3 separate regions of the Homo sapiens genome follow, and regions 1 and 3 are each linked to region 2. The links are contacts of gene promoters, found by promoter capture Hi-C in blood cells and fetal thymus (Javierre and others, 2016). All regions are on one chromosome and are shown on one strand. The core of a region is centred on a gene start or on the middle of the fragment in contact, and the rest is flanking DNA. Distances in the headings are between cores, read along the strand shown. Region 1 has its middle 46 kb from the start of LINC02013. Region 2 holds the start of TMEM207 (transmembrane protein 207). Region 3 has its middle 27 kb from the start of LINC02013.

What was found. The method cuts DNA at HindIII sites, captures the fragments that hold promoters and counts their contacts. A CHiCAGO score of 5 or more calls a contact.
Region 1: a fragment that was not itself captured here is called in contact with the fragment with the promoter of TMEM207 in region 2 in 1 of 17 cell types (neutrophils); the score reaches 5.7 in neutrophils.
Region 3: a contact is called between a fragment that was not itself captured here and the fragment with the promoter of TMEM207 in region 2, in 1 of 17 cell types (neutrophils). The highest score is 5.5, in neutrophils.

The regions. Positions count from the first base shown.
Region 1 is chr3:190,651,632-190,655,681 of GRCh38, forward strand. It overlaps a transcript of IL1RAP not described here. Among named protein-coding and RNA genes, the nearest start is that of LINC02013, 46 kb to the right of the region's middle. The HindIII fragment of the contact is 4,251 bases long and covers 275-4,050 here.
Region 2 is chr3:190,447,677-190,452,033 of GRCh38, forward strand. It overlaps TMEM207 (transmembrane protein 207), which reads right to left and starts at 2,225. Exons shown (of 5, transcript NM_207316.3): 1 at 2,059-2,225; 2 at 114-151. The coding sequence starts at 2,133. The HindIII fragment of the contact is 654 bases long and covers 1,932-2,585 here.
Region 3 is chr3:190,670,320-190,674,657 of GRCh38, forward strand. No RefSeq gene overlaps it. Among named protein-coding and RNA genes, the nearest start is that of LINC02013, 27 kb to the right of the region's middle. The HindIII fragment of the contact is 8,522 bases long and covers 1-4,338 here.

The DNA of each region.
Region 1 (4,050 bases), core at 1,150-3,649, 200 kb after region 2:
TTAAGTGTCTTTCTGAGATAAATCTGAGTAAAATGGGAACTTCTTATCAAGAACATTTTCTTTACATGGAAGTAAAAGTTACTTAAGTAAAATGAATTGTTCCAGAATACTAGGACATATTTTATGGGTGTATATGTGTTTATGTGTGTATGTGTATGTGTATGTGTATGTGTATGTGTGTATGCAGAGAGACAGAAAGACTGTCAAAAAGATGGAAAGATACAGAGAGACAGAGAAAAAGGAGAGAAAGATTATTTTAATACAAAGGAAAACAAGCTTATTCCTTTTTACTCAACTTGGAACTTAGGTCGTTTACAGGAATATTTTTCATCTAATAGGCTTTAACGCAACCACACGGTAGTTGCTTTGGAAATAGATAAAACTAATGCCATGACTTTAGTTAATTGATGATCATTTGAATCAAAGATGCATTTCTGTTACAAATTTTGAATAAATCAGTGATTAATATTTGGAAACATATTTTATTTTCGGTTAATAATACAAGTCCATAGTGACAGGGATGCCTTTTTGCTTTAAAAAAAAAAATCCCTGGCCAGGCGCGGTGGCTCACGCTGTAATCCCAGCACTTTGGGAGGCTGAAGCGGATGGATCAAGAGGTCAGGAGATCGAGACCATCCTGGCCAACATGGTGAAACCCTGTCTCTATTAAAATACAAAAAATTAGCTGGGCATAGTGGTGCACGCCTGTAGTCCCAGCTACTCGGGAGGCTAAGGCAGGGGAATCGCTTGAACCCGGGAGGCGGAGATTGCAGTGAGCTGAGATTGCACCACTGGACTCCAGCCTGGCGACAGAGCGAGACTTCAGAAAAAAAAAAAAAATCCTATTTGTTCATTTTACTGAGCCCTGTAACATGCTCAGAATTGGTTAGCTTAGTAAAGGTTCTTCTACTGAAGAATTAATTTTCCTTTTGCAAACCAGCCCCAAAAGTGTAGGCTTAGGATCAACGGATCGAAGTTACAAGGCAACAGATTTCTGCTCAGTTAGAAAATAGCTGTAAAGCAGAGTTCGACACTAATGGAATTCACTATCTTTGGAAATACTAGGCCTGCCATTACCAGAGGTATATAAGCATTTATTTGATAGATTTTCATTGAGATTTTGTATATGAGTTTTTTGCACTGGATAAGTGGTTTTGAGTCTGAAGTTGTTTCCAACCCTGAACGTGTTAAGTGACCTACTAGAACATACTGGTGACTCTTTGGAAGATTCAACTTCAGCATTTTGCATATGATCTACCTGGCTGTGATTAACCTTCCTTAAACTCTCAAGATTTTTTTTTCCAGTATATACTGATGTCACTAGCTCTTTAACGCAAGTAAATACACAGTATGGTATGAGAGACGGGTTTAGCAACTAGTCTATCTTATTTCTCTGTTTCTACTCAAGGAATATAAAGTAACCTTAGTAATGAGTTAGGAGATGGAGTGTTTTAGTAGTAATTTTAATCTACATCTATTTAAAACTGAATAGACAGAACTTTTACACACTATTACTCTTATAAATCCACATAGTAAGATGATATTTTAAAGTTAGCATTAATAATTGATACAGATTCAATAAACATTAGTCCATATATGATTTTACTATTGTGTTCACTAGACGTTGAGCAACAGTAATTTAATCAAAGTGATTTATGCAATGTGTACTGTGTGCTAGAAATTCACATGTAGGCATCTAATTTGTTTATCAGCCCTACGAGTTTACTTTATCATATGCATTTTATAGATGGATGAACTAGGACTCAAAAGATATTAAGATACAAATAGGGATAAATGGAGAAAGCAATATTTGAAACCACATTCGTCTTCCAAGTTAAATATTTCCTTTTTTCTATACTTCAAGTTTTAATAGAGAAAATGAAAGAGACAGAGGTTTGCTGTTCTTTTATCTACTAATAACTCATCCAGAGGAGAAAAAAAAAAATGACCATCCTAGTTTTCTTCTAAGTGAACTCCATGGAAGTTATGACTTTTACAGGCAAGAGTATTCTTGAGTATTGAAGAGTTCTCAGTCATACAACATGACTTCAAAGCCAATTTAGTACCACACAAGAAAACAAATCTCATTATTATATGGCCATACCTCATTTTTTGAGCCAAACAGAATAAATGAGCTAAATTACTACTCCTCCAAGTAAACTTTAGCATTAAAAATAATAGCTCCTGTCCTCAAATATGAAGTTTTGGCAATATAGAAGGTATTTTAAAAATATGCAATAAAGCATGCAACTCCCTTTACAGTATTAAGTGAAGATCCTTCGGTATAGCCCAGGACCTTTCTGAGAAGCATCTCCTACATGTGTTTCTCAACGTCTAAAATTCCGCCACTCTTACCTGCATTTAGCATTGTCCTCTTTCAAATCTAAACTTCCTCACTTTCTGGATGGAGTACCAATAAAAAAATTAAAGAGCAACAGACTCAAAAGTCATTTTTTAAGAAGATCTGGAACAGTGTTTGTTGTATTTTAAACAACAATATTCCTATTGGCAAAAACATACATTTTCCTAAGGTGACTGTTTTGAAGTGAAACATCATATCACACACACACACACACACACACACACACACACACACACAATTTGCATGAGTTCTCTTTGTTGACAAGCTAGCCATGTTGCCTTAAGGTTATTTCACATTTCTCAGGAGCCAGGAGAAGCAGTAGACTTCCCACTTTCATATTCTCTGATTTATGAGAGGCAGCCTCTTAAGATTCTGAGTAGGACTAGAGGGGACTGAGGAGTTGCTAAAACACATGCACATGTGCACACACTCGTACACACAGAAGGGTTTTAATGATAAACGAGAATTTAAATTTATCTCTTAAGAATGAATGAAACAAAATGTCTCTAAAAACATTTTTGCACTCCTGCTTAAACCAATCAAAAGTTCTCAAAACTTGAGCACGTGTCTCTCCAATTTCCCTTCAAATTCATGTTAAATCCACTGATTGAAAAAAACAAAACTATAATCTGTAAGAAGCACAGCTCCCTTATTCCCTGTCAAGTTCACAATGACCAATGCAAACTTTCAGTCTGTCTTCCAAGGCTGAAAACTCTCTCCGTTACTGTTTCGTCCCTGGACCAAAAGCAGAGGTGTTCACCCTCACACGGTGACTCTGGCACATGTTTTCAAAGTTATAAATGGCTAGGATTTACAATTTTGAACCTTTTTCCTTCAGGATATGGCATGTTCTAAGCTCCTAAATCTCACAGTGAGTTAAGCATTACATTTATTTGAAGAACTTTCCCTTGGGATCTGTCCAAATCCACTTTGATACCATTAGAATCGAATGGTTTGCCAGAAGTCTTAGCTACTTGACTAATTCTTACCCATTTTCATTGTTTTTGCCCCTTTAATTCCAATTCTTCACACACAGACGCACACACACACGCACCACACACACAGAAAAAAGAATTTAATTGATAACAAGATAAATACTATGAACTACTATGAACTGTCCGATGTTGTGTCCAAAAATGTTAAGTATCAAAGGATATAACTGAGAATCTTAGGAGGTGATAATTCCTGTTGCTCTTTGCTGATCAGACTATGTCAGGAGCATTATGTTCACTCCTGTTCATAATACTACTCTTAGAAGACACATCTATAAACTGAACATTATCCAGAGGAAAATGGTAAACATGCAGAGGAGACATGAGGCCATGTCATTTATGGAATAAGAGAAATATCCTGAAAATATTTAATCCAGACATAAGAAGAAAATACTACAAAGATATAAAAATGGTTTTCAAATATTCTAAACATTTAAAGACTCAAGATCTGACCACCAGATAACATTTGCGAGGAAGAAGATTTCAAAACAAGAAATAATTTGTAAACAGAGCTGAAATGACTTGCTTTTGATGGTGGCTAATATTTTGAGGGTAGTTACTCAATTGCCCACCGTGTGTGTGTGTGTGTGTGTGTGTGTGTGTGTGTGTGTGTGTGTGTGTTTTAAGAAAGACTTATTGAAGAAGGAGACTACTGCAATGAGGGTTTTGCAGTAGGAGAGAGAGACTGAGCTCAAC
Region 2 (4,357 bases), core at 975-3,474:
TATAATGATCATTTGAAACTCAACTGGGCTTTTTCTAATGGCTTGAGCCTTTTTTATACTTTGAATTTTTTAAATGCGAAATAAAAACATGGAGTTTTTCGCTGTTTACTTACATTTCATCTTCTTCGCATGGTAGGTCCGAGAGCACCAACTGAAACACATGTTTAGAACAATAAAATCCAAACATCTCATCAGTCTAATCCTTTAATACAAGCAGCGCCTAGAGACAATGTGGGTTTATATCATTTCGTTTGCTTTTTTAATTAAAAGCTCTATAGCAGAGTTTATTGTTGGTACACAGAATTTTAATTGAAAAAATCTCTGGGTGGATTCTTAAGCTCAGCAGTGGCAGAAGATATATATTGTGAACCAGATTCCATTTCTACATACCAATATAAATGGATTTTACGACAATTTTTGTTTTTTCTATATGCAGATTTTGCTTGCTCTAAAGAGCTTTTGTGCACTTTGCATTTTTTGTTTTCATGTTGTAGCTAGAGGTCAGAGGTTCATTATTAGTGAGTATTATTTTCACGCAAAAAAAAACAAGTTCCAAGTACATACATGGAAACAGAAGTCAAGCCTATTAGCATTAATGGGCATTAAATATATATTCATGAAAGGGCGACTTTAACCTGCTCTAAGGGTAAGGTCCATTTAAGATCACATGACATTCCAGTTGAGATTTACAGTCTTCTCTTTATCAGAGAAGAGAAAAAAAGTAATCATCTTTGTTGCTTTGTTTGAAAAGTCCAATACTATAAGCATTCTAAAATAATGCTCTTAGTTATCTGCACTGAGTGTCATAGGTTACAACATCTCATATACTAAATCACAAGGAAAAAGGCACTTCTTTCTAAAGATCTTATTATCTATTTGCTTGCTTGACCCTTTGAACCAGGACTCCTTCCTTGTACAAGGAGAAAGTCTTTAAACGGCATTTATGTGTAGCTCTGAACACTTAGTTGATGAAGTCAGTTGAAGTATTTATTTTCCTGGACTATAACACGCAAATAAAAGTACAAGTAAGAAGTTACAAAATTTAAAGTGATAGACTTGGGAGTTCTGTGTGAGATGTGTCTTTTCCCCCCTTAATCCCAAAAGCATCTTCTTCAGCACCTTGTATTTACTCCACCAAGTTTATCTGGGCAAAGAGATTTGTGGAGTTGCAGATGGAGCCATGAATTGGCCATCAGAGAGCATGGTAATGAACAATTTATAAGCACAGAAAATGAGTTGCATTCTTTTTTGCTAGAATGCTGCAAATAGATTTGCATACTAAGTGAAAGGAAAATGAACATTCACATTTTGTCCATAAAGAAAGTTTATTTATGAGTAGATGAAATCGTTTGGGATCCAGCTTAACAGATAAACAAATAAAACCAGTATTTCACTTTCAAGTCACTTCCGTGTTTTTTCTGTGTGTTGTACCCTAGCAATAGTACACAGTATTAAATTATTAGCACCTCACTGCCAACACATTAGCTGTCAAACTTCCAGTTATTATGAAGAGGTAAGGAAAGCTATAATTTACTTTAGATCTAAATCTTTCAGATACCTTGCATTGAAGTCACACAGATCTAGAGATGCACGTGTTAGTCAGAAGGGGATGCTGGAGCAGAGGAACTGAAATAAATCCTAAAATGGTTCTGTCTACATCAGTCAGCATTGAAAAACTGTCAAGCATCAAGTATGGTTGTAGGCAATAGTAAACATGTCTTAAATTAATCTAGCCATAGCATTTTGTTCTGTGTCAATAGCATTTTGAATTTAAAAAATTACAGCATAGCAAAGTTAAACAAAGGTTAAATTTGCAATCACGTTATTTCAGTAGCAATAGAACTAATTGAAGGAGAAATAAGACTAATGCCTTGGACATTTTGTTTTGTCCCTCTGACCAGTGAATACAAGAAATCATAAGATGCTAGTAAAGCTTGAAGGAAATCTTTTAAATGTAGAAGCAGTTAAGTTGCTCACATATAAATCTATAGCAAATCAAGTCCTCAGAGTACCTCAGAGTACCTCTGAAAACCTTAACCCAGAAAGAGAGATAGTTACCTGGAATAGCGGCAAACACAAGATCCCTATCGTTGAGATCGCTGAGGTGACACTGAAAAGTCTGGATCTTGACATATTTAAAGGACAGTCAACTTAGGATAGTGGTTTGGTGCCTGTGTTTATTTCCTTCTTTCTCAGAACTTACTAGCTTCTCTATAAGTTATGCTTCCTACCAGGACATGCATTAATAATGGCTCCTTGTGACTCGTAAAGTGCATGCTAGGGGAAGGAATGTTGGGTACATGTTTACAGGTACTAAGAGCCCAAGGAATTTAAGTTTAAGGTGAGAACTTTAGCACTGTTTGTCAAGGCCTTTAAAAGTAGGGGTTATAAATGCTGACCTACAGAGCTAGCTGGCTACTTAATAACTTTCCACATTCAAGTGCATGTTTTATTCCAGGGAACTTCTGGGTTTCTAATAGTATTTCATATTTGGAACATTTATTCAATTTTCTTCCCTTTGTTGGTACTCTTTGTTCTCCTACACACCATTTTCAGTTCCAGGTCTAACCCAAACTTAGGCATAAAGCTTTCCTTGTTTTATTGTGATAATACCCCTCTTTTAAACAAGGTATATTTCAATGTTTATTTTATGAAACAACTCCATCACTACCACTGAAAAATAAAGCAAGAATATCTAGGGAAATTCTGAGAAAAAGAAAAGGCACTAACCTATTGTACATTAAGATGTCTTAATCTATGCATTTTACAAAAATTAGTACTGATATGTGTAAATAATAAGGTAAATGTAAAAGAGTAGAGAGTTTAGAAATGGAGAGTTTAGACTCAAATAAACAAATTTATTTAAGCTTCCATTTGAAACTAGTGGAGAGAAGATGGATATCTTTCAGGGTATAATGAAGAGCTAAATGGTTATGTGGAAAGAATGTAACAAATGATTGTTAAGATGCTTAACCTCAGTCATAATTAGATAAACATACCTTAGAATTATAATCAGATTGGCAAGTTCAAAAAATTGATAATATAGGGAAGAGGGATAAATACTGGGAAACAAATACTCTCATATACGGTTGGGAAAACTGTACAGCTTATTTGGAAAACAAGTAGGCAATATACATCAACATAAAAAATAAATATGCCCTTAGAGCAAGAATTCTCCTTGCAAGATACATGAATGTACCCCTTACACATGGCACAAATTACTATATGCAATGATGTTCATCGAAGCATTGTTGGTGTTAACAAAATATTGGAAACAGCAAATATTCATGAAAATGTGACAGACTAAGTACAAAATGGTTATATAAATTCAACAGAATACTAGGAATCTGTTTTAAAAGGTGGAGACAGATCACAGATGCTGATATAGAGAGGTCTGTAATAGTTATTGAATAAAAGGAACAAAAATCACAGAACTTTGTGTACATCATGTCACATTTGTATGCAAAAATAGGAAGGTAGAGCTATAGTATTCTCTCCGTACACAAAACTTATGCATATATACTTATATATGCATAGGATGTCTCTGCATGAAACTGCTAACAGTGGTTGCTCTGTGAAAGGGAAATTGCAAACTAAGAAGACCAGAGTGGGAAGGAAATTTACTTTTCACTGTTACTTCCTTGTATTTTTGATATTTTTTACAATGTCTATATGTCATCTAATTATTTTTTACATATATTCACTTCTAAGAGCCAATTTTGAAGGCAATGATCCACAATGCAGAATGAGAATATCGTAATTCAAGCTCCAGTGTAGTTCACCACATCCAATTCAAATTGTAATGTATGAACCCATTTACAATCACACACATAGATTGCTCTAGAAACAAACCAGCAGTATTAGGTATCTAAACTACTGCACAGAGTTGGCCATCGCGGTATATGGACTAGTTGAGCTGCATCTGGATGGGTGAAGCCGTCTGTGTGGTGACTACGCTCTGTTTAGTATGCAGCCACGGTCGCAGCCATGAATTTCAAAGCAGAGGAAGGCTTGGTGCCAATGCCAATAGGAGAAAAGTAAACCAAACCTACAGTATTATTTATCCCCCAGATACGCTCCATTTTGAGTGTCTCTGAAGCCTGTAATTAAACAGAATGAAAAATAGGCTTTTCACTGGTGAACTTATTTATTAGGCAGTCAGAAGCCTGACTTCCGTCGGTGGAGTCAATGATCTTAAGAATTTCTGGGAAAGGAAGAGGCCAGATGACTAGAGAAGAGACAGAATGGAAATAAGGGCAGCATATTTGGTTTTGCCTCAGAAACTGCAATAATGACCAACTACATACATGGATTAAGTAATTATTGTCAAAAAAAATGCATGATTCTGCAGCAGCTG
Region 3 (4,338 bases), core at 1,064-3,563, 220 kb after region 2:
TCAATTGTGAAGGGGTGTGGGAAGAAAACAGTAGCTACCTGAGAGAGCTAGAGGAGAAACAGTATCTTCAAGGGCAAACCAGTTTATATTAGAATAAGAAAAGAAGGAAAGTTACAGAGGAGAGATAGGGGATGTCAAAAGTTTTATTTGACTGATCATAAGTCCTAGAGGGCTGGGTCAAAGTGTTGTAGTGCTTAGGAGGGGAGAAGGCAAGGTCAGAAAAAGAAAAGTATAGAATCATATAAATATATAACAACTAATAAAATCACTTTATATGATCATGGAATCAGAATTTCAGTGTCCAATAATCAAAACCCAAGCTCCTCTTGGATCCATCACAGAAAAGTAAGTCTCAGAGAGTGAGAAAAGACCTTGCCTACAACTGTTCTCCTTAGCTCTAACCTTCTATTTATGCTTCCCATATAATGAATAACAGCAGTCAAACCATTAATGCAGAGATAATTAGTCCAAGATAATTAGGGAGAAATTTTTCTTCCTTTTGAAAGCCACCCAAAGTCTACAATTAAAGGTTCATTCAATTATGACAGTGCCTATATTCAACACAAGTCACACAGCCTGAAGACAAAACCTGCCCTTGAGAGAAACAAAGAAAAGTTTAAAGTCAAAATATTTCAAAGAAAGTCTGCTTCCAATTATATTTTATCAAATCAATTACCGTTAGGAAGAGCTTTCAATATATTTTATTCAGGAATTTGAATTTTTTTATTCAGAGCTATAAATCAATTAATTAATCAATTATCATTAATTCAGCAACAATCCAAAACAGAATAGTAAAATGTTACACACAAAAGGCACAGAGAAAACTTTTGCAAGTACAGTGCATAATTACTTCCTTTTTTTTTTTCTTTGAGACACAGTCTCACTCTGTGGCCCAGGCTGGAGTGCAGTGGCACAATCTTGGCTTACTGCAAACTCTGCCTCCCAGGTTCAAGCGATTCTCGTGCCTCAGCCTCCTGAGTAGCTGGAATTACAGGCATGAGCCACCATGCCCAGCTAATTTTTGTATTTTTAGTAGAGACGGGGTTTTGCCATGTTGGCCAGGCTGGTCTCAAAACTCCTGACCTCAAGTGATCCACCTGCCTGGGCCTCTCAAAGTTCTGGATTACAGGCGTGAGACACTGCTCCTGGCCCATAATTATTTTCAAATTTTGAAAAACAAATTGAAAACATATCCCATTAGCTATGTTTGTGAAACATACAGTCTTTTGAAGAATTAAAAGAGAAGTCATGAAGATAACACAACCGTTTCCTCTGGAATTATAACAAAATCATACTCAATAGCATGTCCATAGCAGACTATATTGTTTTATTATGCAAACCTTAATCTGGAAAACTCTAGGTTAGATATTTGATTCAAAAAATTACATTGATCTATTCAGGGAATTACATTAATTGCGTGAGACAGGCTGTAGCGACGGGCCATCAAGTTTAAATAACTGCAGACAGTGACTCATCTCTTGGAGCACATTTCACATGGCTTAATTGATAAAAACTATGAAAAAAGCCACAACTATGTACTTTATAAATAGTTGTGTTTATGGACATTGATTTCCTTTAAAAATAAATATTTCTTCCTACTAGGTAGTCCTTTTCAATCTATCTGACCTTGAAATTGCTATGAAGTGTTGTGTGTGGGAGGCCGCAGGGGACTGGCTGGAGAAAGAAAGGGTAATGAAAAGTAGTAGGATCCACCTACTCTCACTCACATACATTATACCATTTAGACAACAAGAGGCAGGATAATTATCCCCATTTCATAGATGAGAAAACCAAAATTCGGAAAAACTAACTTGTTCAAGATAAAACAGATAACAAGTGGCAGAACCAGGATTTGAAAACCAGATAAATCCGGCTTCAACATCTAAATTTTCCACACAGGCTGGGTGCGGTGGCTCACGCCTATAATCCTAGCAATTTGGGAGGCCAAGACAGGTGGATCACATGAGGTCAGGAGTTCGAGACCAGCCTGACCAATATGGCAAAACCCCATCTCTACTAAAAATACAAAAATTCACCGGGCACGGTGGCGCACGCCTGTAATCCCAGCTACTTGGGAAGCTGAGGCAGGAGAATCGCTTGAATCAGGAGGGTGGAGGTTGTAGTGAGCCAAGATCGCACCACTTCACTCCAGCCCGGGCGACAGAGGGAAACTCCGTCACAAATAAAATAAAATAATAAATTTTCCACACAAATAAGACTCCCTCATAACATTTCAAATAAACATGATTCTTAAGTGGTTGTTTATATTTTATATCATTGACATACTGTGATGATGAAATGTGATCAAGAACTGTTTGATGATTAATAAGCTGTATTATTTTGTCATTACAGATTATAAGACTATCAAGATGGCCTTGTGAGTTAAAATGTCTGTTTAACTCTTTTGAATTAAAATGTTATGTTATGGCAATAGCAATAGCAATAAATCACATTTATATAACACTTTATAGTTTCAAAATATTTCCACATAGTCTACCTCCTTGTGATTCTGTTCTCATAACAACTTGTGAGGTAGGCAGAACTGATATTATTCCCACTATTTTATATTTGGGAAATTGAGGGACAGAGAACTTTGCTCAAATCAAATTAATGAAGAGCCCATATGAAAACACAGGTAATTCATTCATCGATGTATGTACTCTTTTAACAAATAATTTTACATATCTATTATGTGACACATACTCTTATTTCTTAAGTGATATCTAAGCTATTACTCATTCCATTAGTTGAAACCTTATATTACAAGATATATTAGATATGTTAATGACAGTGCCTACCACCCCTAACACCTTTTCAAATCCCAACCTACCACCTCTACTAAGAAAAGCTGACGTCGTTTGTTCTTTGAGTGAGTTCACTAATTTGGACTGGTCCGAGAGCAGCAAATTCATTCACTGGCTGCTACCATACAAAGTAGTCTAGTATGAAATATCTGCTCACAGGGGCAATGGCTGTTGAAAAGGCCAATTAGATCATCTTCCTTTGGAATTTGAATAGGAAAACATAGAACAAAAAAATAGCTTTTGGCAGGAGAAGCATAAAAAAGAAGACACTTAAAAAGAATCAGAAACTGAGCAAATAGGAATTCCAGACCTCTGAGTTAAATGCCAGACTTAATAGAACAGAAGTCCTTGTTCTTATGCTGGACACATAGCATTGCTGGCTAATATATTTAACATAAATTAAAACTATTAAAAAAAAAGATAAAGCAAGAAAGAGAAATATTCAGAGGCCAGAAATGAAAAATAAGCCCAGAGCAACAGCAATGAGCAAGAGGCCACACTGCCTCTGGGAGAGTAGGGGTATATGCATTAGTAGCTTAAACATTTAATGCTACATGCAAAAACTAGCCAAAACTTCAGTTCCCACATATAGAGAGGATTGTAGCTGGGCTCTTAAGTACAAATGAGAAGCCAAACTTAGTGCTGCTTTGTATATATACGGGGTCCTAAAATCTCTGAAAATCCCTGCCCGCTTACCAACAAAACCTGAGGTCACAGGCATGAACAAAGTCACCAGTAATAGACTGAGATCTTACAGGAAAAATAACTAATGAGTAGTAGGCTTAATACCTGGGTGAAAAAATAATATGTACAACAAACCTCCATGACATGAGTTACCTACATAACAAACCTGTACATCTACCACTGAAGTTAAAATAAAAGTTAAAAATAAATAAATAAAATTAAAAATTACAAAAAAAAGAGAGCGATAATGAGATACTCGTCCTTTACCTATGTGGAGCTCAAGTTTACGCTATCTGAAATATTTGGAAAAATCCTAAGGAAAAAAAGCTGACATAAAAATTAGAACTAGCAAACACCTTAGGACCTAGGCAGAGGCAACTATAAAACTGCTCCCTTGGAGAAACTTACGGTATTCAGCATTTGCATAAGACTCCCTAAGAAGCTGACCCCTGAAGATGTTCTTAACAAATATCAAAAGCAGACAAACAACAGACTTTCCAAATGGGAAAATTCATATGCATGGAACCGCAGGAAAGAGAGAGATAAGTATTTTTATGTGTTTATAATGCTCAAAATAATCAAAAGTGAAACCAAACCAATAAAAAAGAAAAAGAATGGATCATAATATAAAGGTAAGTAGCTTTGACCATCAGTGAACTTCTTACCAGCATAAATTGAAGCAAGTCTGCTTCTGGAATAATATTATTCCAGTGTTGAGGTGTTGAGGGAAAAAAACCTGTCCCCAAATTAGATACCCAGGTAAACTATAATTCACATCAGTCGATAAAATAAAGACATTTCTAAAAAGCAAACGCTGAGTGAAAGCACTATCCATGAAATTTACAAAAAG